Linked DNA regions of Homo sapiens: all the other regions are linked to region 1. Evidence: promoter capture Hi-C in 16 types of primary human blood cells and fetal thymus (Javierre and others, 2016). All regions are on one chromosome and are shown on one strand. The core of a region is centred on a gene start or on the middle of the fragment in contact, and the rest is flanking DNA. Distances in the headings are between cores, read along the strand shown. Region 1 holds the start of TENT5C-DT (TENT5C divergent transcript). Region 2 overlaps GDAP2 (ganglioside induced differentiation associated protein 2). Region 3 overlaps GDAP2 (ganglioside induced differentiation associated protein 2).

The links. The method cuts DNA at HindIII sites, captures the fragments that hold promoters and counts their contacts. A CHiCAGO score of 5 or more calls a contact.
Region 2: a fragment that was not itself captured here is called in contact with the fragment with the promoter of TENT5C-DT in region 1 in 1 of 17 cell types (naive B cells); the score reaches 5.7 in naive B cells.
Region 3: a fragment that was not itself captured here is called in contact with the fragment with the promoter of TENT5C-DT in region 1 in 1 of 17 cell types (naive B cells); the score reaches 9.6 in naive B cells.

Annotation. Positions count from the first base shown.
Region 1 is chr1:117,603,655-117,607,914 of GRCh38, reverse strand. TENT5C-DT (TENT5C divergent transcript) reads left to right here and starts at 2,145. Exons shown (of 3, transcript NR_121626.1): 1 at 2,145-2,269; 2 at 2,979-3,126. TENT5C (terminal nucleotidyltransferase 5C) reads right to left here and starts at 1,867. Exons shown (of 2, transcript NM_017709.4): 1 at 1,762-1,867. RefSeq lists a silencer at 1,802-2,141 and enhancers at 2,052-2,552, 2,553-3,053. The HindIII fragment of the contact is 6,964 bases long and covers 483-4,260 here.
Region 2 is chr1:117,910,099-117,914,358 of GRCh38, reverse strand. It overlaps GDAP2 (ganglioside induced differentiation associated protein 2), which reads left to right. Exons shown (of 14, transcript NM_017686.4): 4 at 1,676-1,829; 5 at 2,277-2,365. Among named protein-coding and RNA genes, the nearest start is that of GDAP2, 17 kb to the left of the region's middle. The HindIII fragment of the contact is 3,432 bases long and covers 494-3,925 here.
Region 3 is chr1:117,892,061-117,896,320 of GRCh38, reverse strand. The region is part of intron 8 of GDAP2 (ganglioside induced differentiation associated protein 2); the gene reads left to right. Among named protein-coding and RNA genes, the nearest start is that of GDAP2, 35 kb to the left of the region's middle. The HindIII fragment of the contact is 1,778 bases long and covers 1,440-3,217 here.

The sequences.
Region 1 (4,260 bases), core at 896-3,395:
CCAGAGATCATTTTCCATCTTCACAAACAAGAATGTCAAAGGACAGAACCCCTGCAGCCCAGCTCAGAGGTTTCCCTAAAAGCCCAGAGAAAAGTCAGCATTCTTTACTCCCCATCCCCCTCCCCCTTTTCCACTGCAGGGCCTAACGTGGCTGGTCTCACACCCTCAATAATACCCTTGGGGATTTAAGACAGTAAAATTCTGGGTAAGCTCTCCTACCACTCTTGCGGCTGCCCAACTTACTTCCTGGGCTCATTTCCTTGCCAATTTACTCACGTTGAAAGGTTGCTGTCGCCAACAACGGTCACCCTCTTTCCTGCACGCAGAGGGCAGCTGAGCCAGCCAGAAGTGTACTTTGGGAGGATCTAATCACCCTAACTTTATTTCCTGGGCTGGTTCAGTCTCCTAACCCACCTACAAAGTAACCTGAAGACCAAGTTGTCACAATACAAATAATTATGCACATAGTATTTATAAAAGCTTTCTTACTATAAGTGCATTTTAAGCACTTCATTTGTATGCACTTTATATCTCCGTAAGAAAGCAAAAATGTTAAAAAGGAAGCAGGCCCCTACTTAATTAAGCCAGGGAACTGGTTAGAGCCCTACAAAAGCCTACCTATGGACAAAAAAGGGCGAAGGGGAAGGGAGCTGACACTATCCCTCCCGCAGGGTCCAGCCCTAATAGTGGGTTCTCCAGAAGCTCGCCAGGCATTCATTTCTCCAGGGGAGCGCCCTTACTTGGAGGTAGCGCTGCTTGGTTTTCTCGCCCGCCAGCGTTGAGTTCAGGTGTGCAGGCTACCAACCTGTATTCTTCAGGTAAGTCACCCTCCTCTGACTCGCCTCCCACCCTGCTCCCTCCTGCCTCGCGACCAGTGCGAAGGGAGTCCCCGAACTGCGACACCTCCCGGGGCAGCCGCACCGGTATCCGTCCGAGTCGACCCACTTGCCGTGGCTTTTCACCTACGCAGTAAAGCAAGTTTCATTTTCAAAAGGAGAGGAAGCAGGTTTCACAGACACCGCATTCCCAAGAAGTTTCTGAGAGACGCGCAGCGCACAAGTCACTGGCTTGGATCCCTTTGCTGCTCATGGTGTCCACAGTCTGATGTGAGCGCATTAAATTTAAGGATCTCCGCCCTTCTCCTTAAAACTCAGGACTTGGCAATGAGCCTAGGAAGCGCCCCTCCCCTCCCCAACCAGATCCAAGCCCCGGACCGCTGCGTCTCCAGCTGCGCCTAGTGAAACCGCCGAATTCGAATTCACACTCGGCGGGCCGGCGAAGGTGTGCGCGCCCGCGGGAGCGCCGGGGCGAGCCCGAGGGACTGCAAGCCAGGAAGGGAGGCATGGGTGGCGGGGGGCGCCGTCTGATCCAGGTAGGAGCGGAGGCGCCGATCACACACTCTTCAGACGCCCTGCCCGCGCCTGGCCAGCGCGCAGCCTGCAGGACGCGCGGAGCAGGAACTCGCTGGAGTTTGCCAAGCCCCAGGTCTCTGGAAAGTTGTAGCTCCCTTTCGGAGCGTCTCTTCTGGCCCTTTGGGACGGGTGTGTCAGGGGCGGGGGTCCTCGAGGGAGCAGGAGGGGAAAGGAGCACCGGGTCTCGGCACCTGTCCGCAGCTCCCCTCGGGTCCGCCTGCCCCCTACCAGGCTGGGCAAAGACCTGAGCACCACTTAGTGGGGGCGGACCCCCACTAAGTGAGCTCGCGGCTCCCTGGGGCTGCTGCCGCATCGCCGCACCTTTAGAGGAGGGGGGTCGCGGACTCACCTGGGCAATAGAAGAGGAGGCGACAGAGGCAGGTCCTTGGCGTGGGCAGGCCCCAGCAGGAGCGGCGCGACCTCTACAGCCCCTAGGCAGCGGCACCGAGTGAGCCGTCCCGCCGCCGCCCCCTCCGTTCTTATACGGCGGGACCACGCCCCCGTCCCCGCCCCTGAGCCGCCCTCCCGGGGGAGCCAGGGGCGGGGCGTGGCGGAGCCAGTCCCCTCGGGACCCTTCCGCCCGGCCCTGACGGCAGGGGCGGGGCGAGGGCTGCCCTCTGATTGGCTCTTCGGGTGAATGGTTGCCAAGAGACGAGTAAATCCTCAGCGGCGGGAAGGGGCGGGGTGCTCAGGGAGGCAGCACTGCGCAAGCGCAATAGAGGGGGCTGCGTCGACACCCACTTAACTTCGGAGTTAGTGGGACACCTTTCTTTTTGCTTAGTACGCTTTTCTGCTATTCCTGCCGCATAACTCTCTCTTCCCCAGGCTTTTCCCATCTCCATCCTATTCTCTCGCAGGCAGGTTTTTCTTCCGCCTCTCTGGGGATTTTCGCGTTGGTTCTCCCTGCCCCCAGGAGTGAGGCGGGTAACGCCCACGCCTACCTCCGGTGTGTGTTTTTGAAGTCGGAAAAAACTTAATGGTTTCTGGGCCCTGGGCACCTTTCTGATTCCCCAAGCAAACTGGCTGGAGGCGAAGGCGTGGTCTTCGGGGAGAGAGCGCCGGCGGCTCTCTGGCCCCGGGGACCACCTGTGTGCAGTTAGTGGGACGAAGGGCCTCGGGGAGTCCATCGCCAATGTCGGCAGCCGCAGCCGCTTCGGCCCCATTCGGAATGCCACAGCACTTGGTCCAGTGTGTTATATAACATGCAGGCAGGGCTTGGACACCATCCATTCATAACATAGCGAGTGGTTTACAGCCCAGGTTCTGAATTCAGACTAATCTGAGTTGAGATCTCCATGCACCACTTAAACTTTCTGTAAGGCCTTAGGCAAGTAACTGAACCAACCCTCCAACAACCTGCGTCTCCTATCTGTAGGACAAGACTAACAATGGGACAGCTCTGTAGAATTATATAAGTATTAAGAAAATACGTGGGAAACAATTAGTGCATTGCCTAGTGCCTGTTAGAAAGTGTGTGGCAAATGCTGTATGTATCAGATAGTAGCCAATGTTGGACAATGTTATTTATCAATAGACATTATTGTACTTGTATTGATCGTTTACTAGGTGCTGGGGGAAAAGATTACTTCCCAGATGCAGTATTTACATCTCCTCCGCCCTACTCTTCCAACCCTGCCTGAAATAAGTGTGGTTCTCCTGTCTGTCAGACTATGAAGAGTTCTCAAATATGTCTTTCCCAGCGAGGGAGAGGAGAGTGAGTATCCAGGAACTTTAATGCGATAGGACATCAATATGAGTGTTTATAGGGAAAGCCAGTGATCCTATTGTTAGACGCGAAATCAAGACATATGATCTGATTTTTTGTTTTACTTTTTGTTTTTGAGGTATAACATTCAGTAAAGCGCACAAATCAAAAGTGTCCAGAATGATAATTTTTTACATATGCATACCCATGTAACTGCCATCCATATCAAGATGTGGAACCTTTCCAGCTCATTCATGCCCCTTCCCATTCAGTATCCGACAAGGATTACCACTATTTTAACCTCTATCACCATAGATTAGTTTTACCAATATTTGAACTTGCTATGGATGAAATACATAACACGTACAATTTTATGTCTGGCTTCTCTTGCCCAACAGTGCGTCTATGAGATTCATCCATATTGTTGTGTGTAACAATGGTCCATTCTTTTTCACTACTGTGTATTACTTCATTATATAAATATTCAACGATTTGTGTACTCATCCTACTGTTGGTGGACATTTGAGTTGCTTCATGTTTCTGCCTTTGATGAAGCTGCTGCAGACATTCTTACACATGTCTTTTGGTGGACATAGCATTCATTTATGTTGGATATATATATATACCTAGGATTGGATTCCTGGTTCATAGAGTGTTCACATATTAAACTTTAAATACACTGCCAGTTTTTAAATTCGTATAACAATTTAGGTTCCAACCAGTGATATGAGATTTCCGGTTGTTTCACATCTTTGCCAGTATTGGTATTTTCAGTCTTTTTAATTTAAAAAGGGGGGGGATATGTATTTCATTGTGATTTAAAATTGCATTTTTTGATGATCAAGGATGTTGAGCAATTTTTCAGATGCTTATTGTTCATTTCAATACCCTTTTAATAAAGTGTCTGTTCAAGTCTTTCGCTCATTTGTAGGGAGTTGTCTGTCCTAATGACCTATAAGAGTTCTTTACATATTCTGAATATGAGCCCTTTGTCCAATATATGTATAACAAATATCTTTTCCCAATCTGTGTTGACTTTTAATTATTCTAATGTTATCTTTTGATGAACAGAAGCACTTAATTTTAAAGACATTCAAAATATTAATCTTATCTCTTATGACTAGTGTTTTGTATGTCCTGTTT
Region 2 (4,260 bases), core at 960-3,459, 310 kb before region 1:
TTTCATTTCTGCTGTCATATTTTTCACTTGGCTATAGCAGTTACATAAGTGCCATTTCCTGTTCTCTGAATAGTTTGTTTTTATGACATTCTGATTTTAAGTTTTTTTTCCCCTGTGTTGTCTATTTCTTGAGCATGTGTTTAGTCTCCCCTTTTAGTTTTTGTTAGAGGCTTTTCTCACTTTCTGGTGATCCTTAAGTGTTAGCTGGATTTAAGATGGAAGAACTGAAAAGTTCATGGGAAACTTTGTACACATGGGTGTCTAAGTCATTTCAGGCTGCTATAACAAAGTATCCTAGGCTGAATGGCTTAGGAAGAACAGAAATTTCTGGAGACTGAAATCCAAGATCAGGGTGCCAGCATAGTCAAGTTCTGCTAAGGGCTGTCTTCCTGGCTGCAGACTGCTGAGTTTTCATTGTATTTTCACGTGGCAGAGAGAGGGAGCAGACTCTCTGGAGACTCTTACAAGGATTCAGATCTCATTCATGAAAGCTTTACCCTCATGAGCTTATCTAATTCTAATTACCCCCAAAGACCCTACCTCCTAATACCATCACATTAGGGGGTAGGGTTTAACATATGAATTTTGAGGGAACCGAAGCATTCAGTTCATAACAGTGGGCAACGGTTATTGCCTGGTGGGTCTTGAAGCATATGACAGAATGGGACTCCTGCCTGTTATTTTATTGGGGAACTTCCCCAGTTATCTGTAGGTCCTTTAGGTTTGGGCCTCTCAATTTCTTGGAAAGGAATCCTCCAGGAGTGTAAGCCTAGATGTCTGTTTTGAAAGCCATTTAGGGGCAGAGGGCTAGACCTTTCACTGTTAAGTATAACACTTTAACTAAATCCCCTCTTTTCAGCTGTGCCTGGGGTTCTGGAATCCAGAAACTCTCTAGTTGAGCATCTCCAGAGAATAAACTTCTTCCCTGCTGCTCTGGTGGTAAAAAAAAAAAAAAAATCATCACCTTACTGTGCTGGCTGGGGGAGGGGTTGTTGCAGATTTGACTGTTTTTATACAAACTTTTAACTGGACCTCCTCTTTTTAGCACCACATCCCACTTGACAGCATAGCCTTTACAAGTACTTAGGGCTCCAATTTCTGAGCCTTTTTAGCATTCTCTAGTAATAATAACAATAATTTCTTATGCATGTATGCACTTTGCATATAGTAACTCGTTTAATCCTGTGAAGTAAGTACTACTAGTATCCCTCTTAAATAGGAAATTGGGTTGTAACAAGGCTAAGCCCCTGCCCAGAGTGTCTTGACAGGAACTCAGGATTTGAATCAAAGCAGTCTGTCTTGTATCCAACACTGCTTTTCAGTACAGATCAACTTGCTTCGTATTAGTTATCTCATTTCTGCAAGCAATTAGGTTTGTCTGCTCTGTTGAGTCAGTTACTAGTCAGTTGACATTCTACCTTCCAAAATTTTGATGATGCTTATCTGCTTCATGGTCTTTCTCATTCTCTTTATCTGTCTCTGTGCTTATACCTATTGTATTGCTTCACTGTCATTTTGGGAACAGAAGTAACAGAGATAAATGCTTGTGTTCAGTCTGTATTTTTAACTGAAATTTCTCAAAGTTCTCAATACTTTCTCTGTTTCATGCTTTCATTTGTTTTTGTTTCTGTTTTCCTAACACATCCAAACTTATGTGTGTTTCCATTGTTTTCAGGGTGCCGAACAGGTGAAGCAAAATTGACAAAAGGATTCAATCTAGCTGCCCGGTTCATCATTCACACAGTGGGACCTAAATATAAAAGCCGCTATCGCACAGCAGCTGAGAGTTCCCTTTATAGCTGCTACAGAAACGTACTTCAACTAGCAAAGTATGGTCTACTCATTTTCTGGACATAGCATATCATACATTGTTAAAGGCCCCAGTTTTTAAAGATAAAGGCCCCAGTTTTTAAAGATTAAAAACCTAGCAGTGGAAGTCAAATTTTGAGGGACTTAGGTGATTTAGGAGGACCCTGACAATAGAATTATCTTTTCAAACTTAGCGGGATAAATGGGATAGATTTGAGTGACTTGAGAATTTAACCTTTTCCCATTTTTTATTCAGTTTTTATGTGAGATATATATCCTCCAAAGAGTGCAATTAAATTGTATATGAATAGAATTATTGAGTGGTACAGTTGGGTTAGCTATTATAGTAGATTTGTTGAAGAGGGAGGAAAGGAGAAGTTGAGCTAGATTTTGAAATTACTTATATATTGTTGTGTATGTATTACTGATATTTCTAGTGCAATTTTTGTGTTTTCCCTTTGTTGCAGAGAGCAGTCAATGTCTTCTGTTGGCTTCTGTGTCATCAATTCTGCAAAACGTGGTTATCCTTTAGAGGATGCAACACACATAGCACTTCGTAAGTAATATCAGAGATGCTGTACATGAATTGAATCTTAAAAATTTTTTAAATTCTGGGCATGGTGGCTTATACCTGTAATTCCAGCGACTTGGGAGGCTGAGGCAGGAGAATCACTTGAGGACAGAAGTTTAAGGCTGCAGTGAGCTGTGATTGCATCTATGAATAGCCACTGCACTCCAGCCCGAGCAACATATAGTGAGACCTCATCTCAAAAAAAAAAGGTTTTTTTTTTTTTTAATCATTAAATAGTTACAGCCAAAGAATATTCATTGATTAAGTGATTGTGGCTCCCTGGAGGGAAGTTTTTATTGGCAAGTTGCAGAGCTCTCAATTTACTTTTTCAGGTTGGCATTTTTATCCATTTGAATAACGGGTCAGAAGACTTGCCTATTAATTTTTTTAATTTAACAGAATTTAATTGAGCAAAGAATGAGATTTGAATTGGACGGCCCCCAAAACCAGAATAGATTCAGAGCAGCTAGCCTCTTGAATTTGAAAGTGATGCTAAGTTAGAAAGTATGGCTAATGCATTGAGTAGTTAAATCAGAATTTAGAATAATCTTAACAGTCTGTAACAAATGCAGTCAGATTTCATGATATCATATTTGTATAACACTTGGCAGTTTAAATAGCCACATTCACACATGCTATTTGAATGTAAAATTCTGCATTTAGGTTTTCAAAAGACTGGGCTCAGTCAATATGAGCCAAATGCCTGTATGTCACATAAAAATATGGCATTCAGCTAAAGAGAGTCCATGATCTCACTGTATATATGCAGATTTAGACCACATCTTGAGTTTTATATATATTTCTGTGTGTCATATTGCATGAGACACTGACAAACAGGAGGACAAACAGTTTGAAACAGTAGTGGTGTTTCTTCTAAAGAAGAGCATGCTTTTAGCAAATATGATGTCCATCTTCAAATATCTGAAGGAATCTCATTTGGACTTATTCTGTGCTACATTTTTCAAGCAGCAGTTCTTTGGGATATTGTCATAAACTACGATGAGCATCTGGTGAAAGAACACTATGGACCCTTTGTCAAGAAAAATGTGCATAAATACAGAATTTGCATGTTATTTCAGGAAGTTTACAGATCCTCATCAGGATTGTAGATAAGAACTCCAACTGTACAAGGCAAGGTCTAAGACCAAGTTATAAGGAAGAAAATGTTGGTCCCACTTGAAGTAGTACTAACTGTAACAGCAAAGTATTTTAGCGAACTTCTTGTCACTAGGAACATTCATGCAGAGGTTACAGGACCATCTGTTGCAGCTGTTATAGAAAACACTTCTCATTTCAGAGACGAACTATACTAAATCATCTTTAAGAGCCCCTGTTATCTCTAGAATTTAAAGTCGAAGAGCTGAAAGCCTTATATCCACAAATACCAAAAAGATATTTGAATGTATAAGTTATTATTATGTAGCCTGGAGTTTAGGGTGAGTATCTGTTCAGTCTTAGTCTTATTTAATTATAACCTATTTTAAAAACCAATATTCTAACTGCTCAAGGATTTTATAGTAAATTTGTATATTTTATAATTAAGCTTATATACATTACATTAGACTGAGCTTGAGGGGCAGGGATCTTATCTTTTTATCTTGAATGCTTGACATATGGTACTTGCTCAAGAAATATATATTTTTAAAAGGGACAAGTAAATTCCACTTACTTTACTTAACAACCCTGTGTTTTAGGTAGTGTGGTGTCCGTTGTACAAATAAAAGGTCTCAGAAATTTCTCCTGTTATGAGGGTTATGCAGACTTGGAGCATATATCCAGACCTTCTGACTCCCAGGTCTAGTAACCTGTCTGTTATACTAGATGATTCATTATGCTTGAGTTAGAACTGCTTCAGTGGAAGACTACTATGTTATTACATG
Region 3 (4,260 bases), core at 1,079-3,578, 290 kb before region 1:
TTTGTACTTTTGGGTAAGCTTTCCCAAAGATCAAGTCTTTGTAAAGCTGGCTGCTTTTCAAAAAAGTCTAAAGAAAATTAAAGTAAACAAACTATAAATGTCTACTATCCATTACCTTATAGGGTTGATGGAGGGTTAGCACCTCATAGGGTTTTTGTGAGCATTAAATGAGGTAATGTAATGAGCTTTAGCACAGAACCTGGTACTTGTCAAGCTCTTAAAATTGTTCACTGCTGTACTGAGCAAATCATGGCTTGTTTTATCTTTGAGCTTTGGTACTTGCCATTCCTTTTGAATGGGCTACTCTCATCCTTCAATTTCTGTCCAGATTTCAAAAGCAGTTGCCTCTGGAGACCTACCTCCCAAGTCTGGAACAGATGCCACCTCCTGTATGCTTTTTTCATACCCTGTACTCACCCAAAGCATAGCATAGCATTTTTCACGCTGTATTGTAATGATGTCTGCATGCTATCTGTCTCCACTGATAAAGTGGGAGTTGGACTACATGAACTCTCCAGTCACTTTCAGAACTAGTATTTTGTGTCTCCTCAATCCCAGGTCTTCCTTTATTCTGATTTTAATTTGAAAAACAAAAGCGTATGAGCCACTAGGGGGCACCAAGGAACAGCTTTTCCAAGTGAGGCAGTCACAGTCAAATGATACTTTCAGTGGTTTCTAAACTTGGCCATATGTGTAAGACTCATCTGATGGACATTTTTCATTAAATACGGTGCCTGGGCTCCTCACATTACTGGGATCTGGGACTTCTTTAGTATCGAGTCTCCTTTGCACTCTTAAAAATTGTTGAGGACCCCAGAGAGCTTTTGTTTTTATGGGTTGTATCTATCAATATTTATCACATGAGAAATTATTTATTTATTTTAAAATAACTTTTTTATTGAGAAAGATAGCAGTGTTTTTTTTTAATCTTGCAAATTGTTTAATGTTTGATTTAATGGAAGACAGCCAGATTGTCCTATCAGCATTCAAACTGCTGCAGTAAGTTGTTTTGACTAATGTATATGAAGAAAACCTGACCTCACTGAGATTTTAATTGGAAAATGGAGGAGTATTTTAACAGCCTTTTAAAATAATTGGGATATTCTTCTTTGATACTATACCAGAATTTGATAAATAGTAGTGTTTTAAAACATAGTTGTAATGCAGAATCTCAAACTGTATCCATGAATTTTTTTAATTCTATTATATTAAAATGTGGTGTTCTGTACTTTGGACAGATTTTATAATAGGAATGTATAGCATGACTTTATAACATGATACGTTAGCTTTTTGGAAAGTATTGATTCATTGAATTATTCAGAGCTCCAAGTATTGACACATTTCATTACACAGTATCAAAAAATTATATTTGTTAGTATCGATTGTATAGTATCACCAATCTCATCAGAAAAGTATTTAATATTAGGAACTGTCAAGCTTCTGATGACAATAAAAATGTTTCAAATATGTATATATTTAAAGCTCAAGTTTTATCATTGGCAACAAATACTGTTGATTATTTTTCTTGAAATGTCAGGGTCACTTTATTCATTTTTGGGAAAACACCTGCCACATATTCATGTTGAATAACTACAGTTTGCCAGTCATTCTTTGAAGTAAAAATGGTGTTGCATGAAAAAAAGCAACTAGTCCAGCTCACAACTCAATCAAATAGTGCTTTTCTTCAAGGCAACTTCACACTTCAATATGCAGAAGTACTTTATGTGTTCTTCCATTTTGTCTTCCATTAATTTAAAAAGATGGGTTCTCAAGAACTGATTTAATAAAATTAATAATCTTTACTTCTACATCGAAGACATTCTTAAATGCAGCTGGCCTTTTTTGTTTATTGGTGCCACTGCCTTGATTTGTGGTAAGGCTATTACCAGCTGTTTTTACCCATTAGTTGCTTTTGCACTATCAATGTAAATGTCTATGCAGTGAAAAATGCAAATAATGTTATTACAAAAATAGTTTTAAACTTACAGCCTCCTAAAGGCATTTCAGGATCTCTTTAAGAAAAAAATTGGCCAGACATGGTGGCTCATGCCTCTGTTCCCAACTACACAGGAGGCTGAGGAGCCCAGGAGGTGGTGGAGATTGCAGTGAGCTGTGATCACACCACTGCACTCCTGCCTGGGCGAAAGAGAGAGACCCTGTCTCAAAAAAAAAAAAAAATGTTATTGAGACTTATTTTTCTTTTTCATTCACATTCTCTCACAGTGTTCAATGGAGTTTTCTGGAGGCCACTCACTATGTGATATTACAGTAATTTAAATGCAGACGCACATATGAGAATCTAGCAGAAATTAAAGAGATTTGCAAGTTAAAAAATACAACTCTTCTCTAAATACAGCTTTTTTAAAAAAAGTTATGTTCACAAAATAGGTTTTTCATTGTTTTTAAATTAATGAATATTTTTTAAATTTCTCTGTTTTTATTTCTAATGAGAACTGGTAGATATAAATGACACAAACAAAAGATGTTTAAGGTCCTCAATAATTTATAAAAACATAAAAATGTCTGTGTTTTATATAGATATATTTTGGTCCTGAGACCAAAAAGTTTTAGAATTGATGGCTGTTTATTGAGGAGTTTATGATATAACTAAGCTATGTCAACTGTTTGCATGCTCAGCCGTATTTGAGATTGTAGGTTGTAGTTTTTAAAATTTCTTTCTCTTGATATTTCTAAATCGGGCTTTTATTTTCACATATTGAGTCTGGCTTCTGTTGATTATGTTAATTAATTAGGTTGAACAAATGTAAAAGTAAGTAGGTTTTTAGTTAGTAAATATCTTTTCAAAAGCCTTCAATTCTTCCATCAGTAGCGAAACTAAAGGTCACATGGATTGGCAATAGTTTTATGTCACTCCTTTCGTAGCACTGCCTTGTCACCTCAGTATCTCTTCAAAATAATTGTTTTTAACATGAAAAATTAGACGTGCTTTCTAATCCAGGTCTGTCATCCAGTTGTGATTCTGATTTGGGTGTATCATAAGGTAGACATTGGTTTACTTACCAAAATTAGGAAGCAACCTAGATACTCTTTTTCAAAAATACTGCTTTTGAAACTCTTCAAGTTATTTTACAGGAAGATTTCCTTTCCTTTTTTATTAGTATTACTTGACTGGCTTAAGATTCAATTGCCTGTGACTCTTATGTCATTTTTCTCAACAAAATCATTATCTTTTTCATTATTAAATACTTATTAAGCTTTTACTAATGTGCCAAATGTTGTGCTGGATACTACTGGTAATAAAGTGACAAGCAAGACAGATACAGCACCCGCCTGCATGGAGCTTAGGGTCTTGCAGAGGAGAAAAATGTTAAACTAATTAGTATATGAATAATTGTTTAAATTACTGTACAGGGTCAATAAGAGGATACAACAAAGATCTTAACTAAATCTAGGATGGGTCAATTGTATAAGGTCTGGGAAAGCATCTGCTAATTCCAAAGACAGAATTTTCCCTGGGCGATGATTATACACAGATGGGTTAGTTATTAGTCTTTTAAGAGTGATACAGTTTAAATTTTTTTTGTCATTCAGCTGCTGGCTGTACAGGTGGATGGTAATTTATTAACTGGAAGAAACTGGCTTATATTAGCTTTGTGAGAACAGTGTCCAACCTCAGTTGGTTGCAACCCATTGAGAAACTAATTAGTGTTTCTGCATTTAGAGCACTGTAGTGGCTATTTTTTTCTGCCATTTTGACATATTTTGTACGATTATTTATCCATGATTATTATATTTACTCATAAAATAATAGAAGTTTGTTTATTTGGAATAAGAAAGTACTCTATATAGGATATTTAGGAAATATCCTGTAGGAAACCCAGAAACTATTTTGAGTTCATATTTTCCTTTTAGCTTTGTTTTGATTTTTGGATTGGAACAAAAGATTGCATGTCTTCCTTTAAACAAAACAAAACACTATAGCAAAAAGTGAGGTGCTGTTTATAAGAAATGTAATAGAAAACATGAAATATTCTTTGAATAATGAAGTTTAGAAAAAAAGGAGGGTATTGTCTATTGAGTGAGAAGAGTAACAGTCTTTTTGCTTTTACTCTTTCTTCCCAACTGGTGATTTTTTTAAAATAATGACTAAATAATCAGACTTACACAATCTATAGTGGTAATGGCAGAGACTTAATTAGAATAAAGAAGAAACCTGATGAAGATTGCAATCATGAGTTGTTGCATGGTCCTTAGAAACCAGAACAGGACCAGTGTCTCAGCAGTGATTCTAACCTTTTA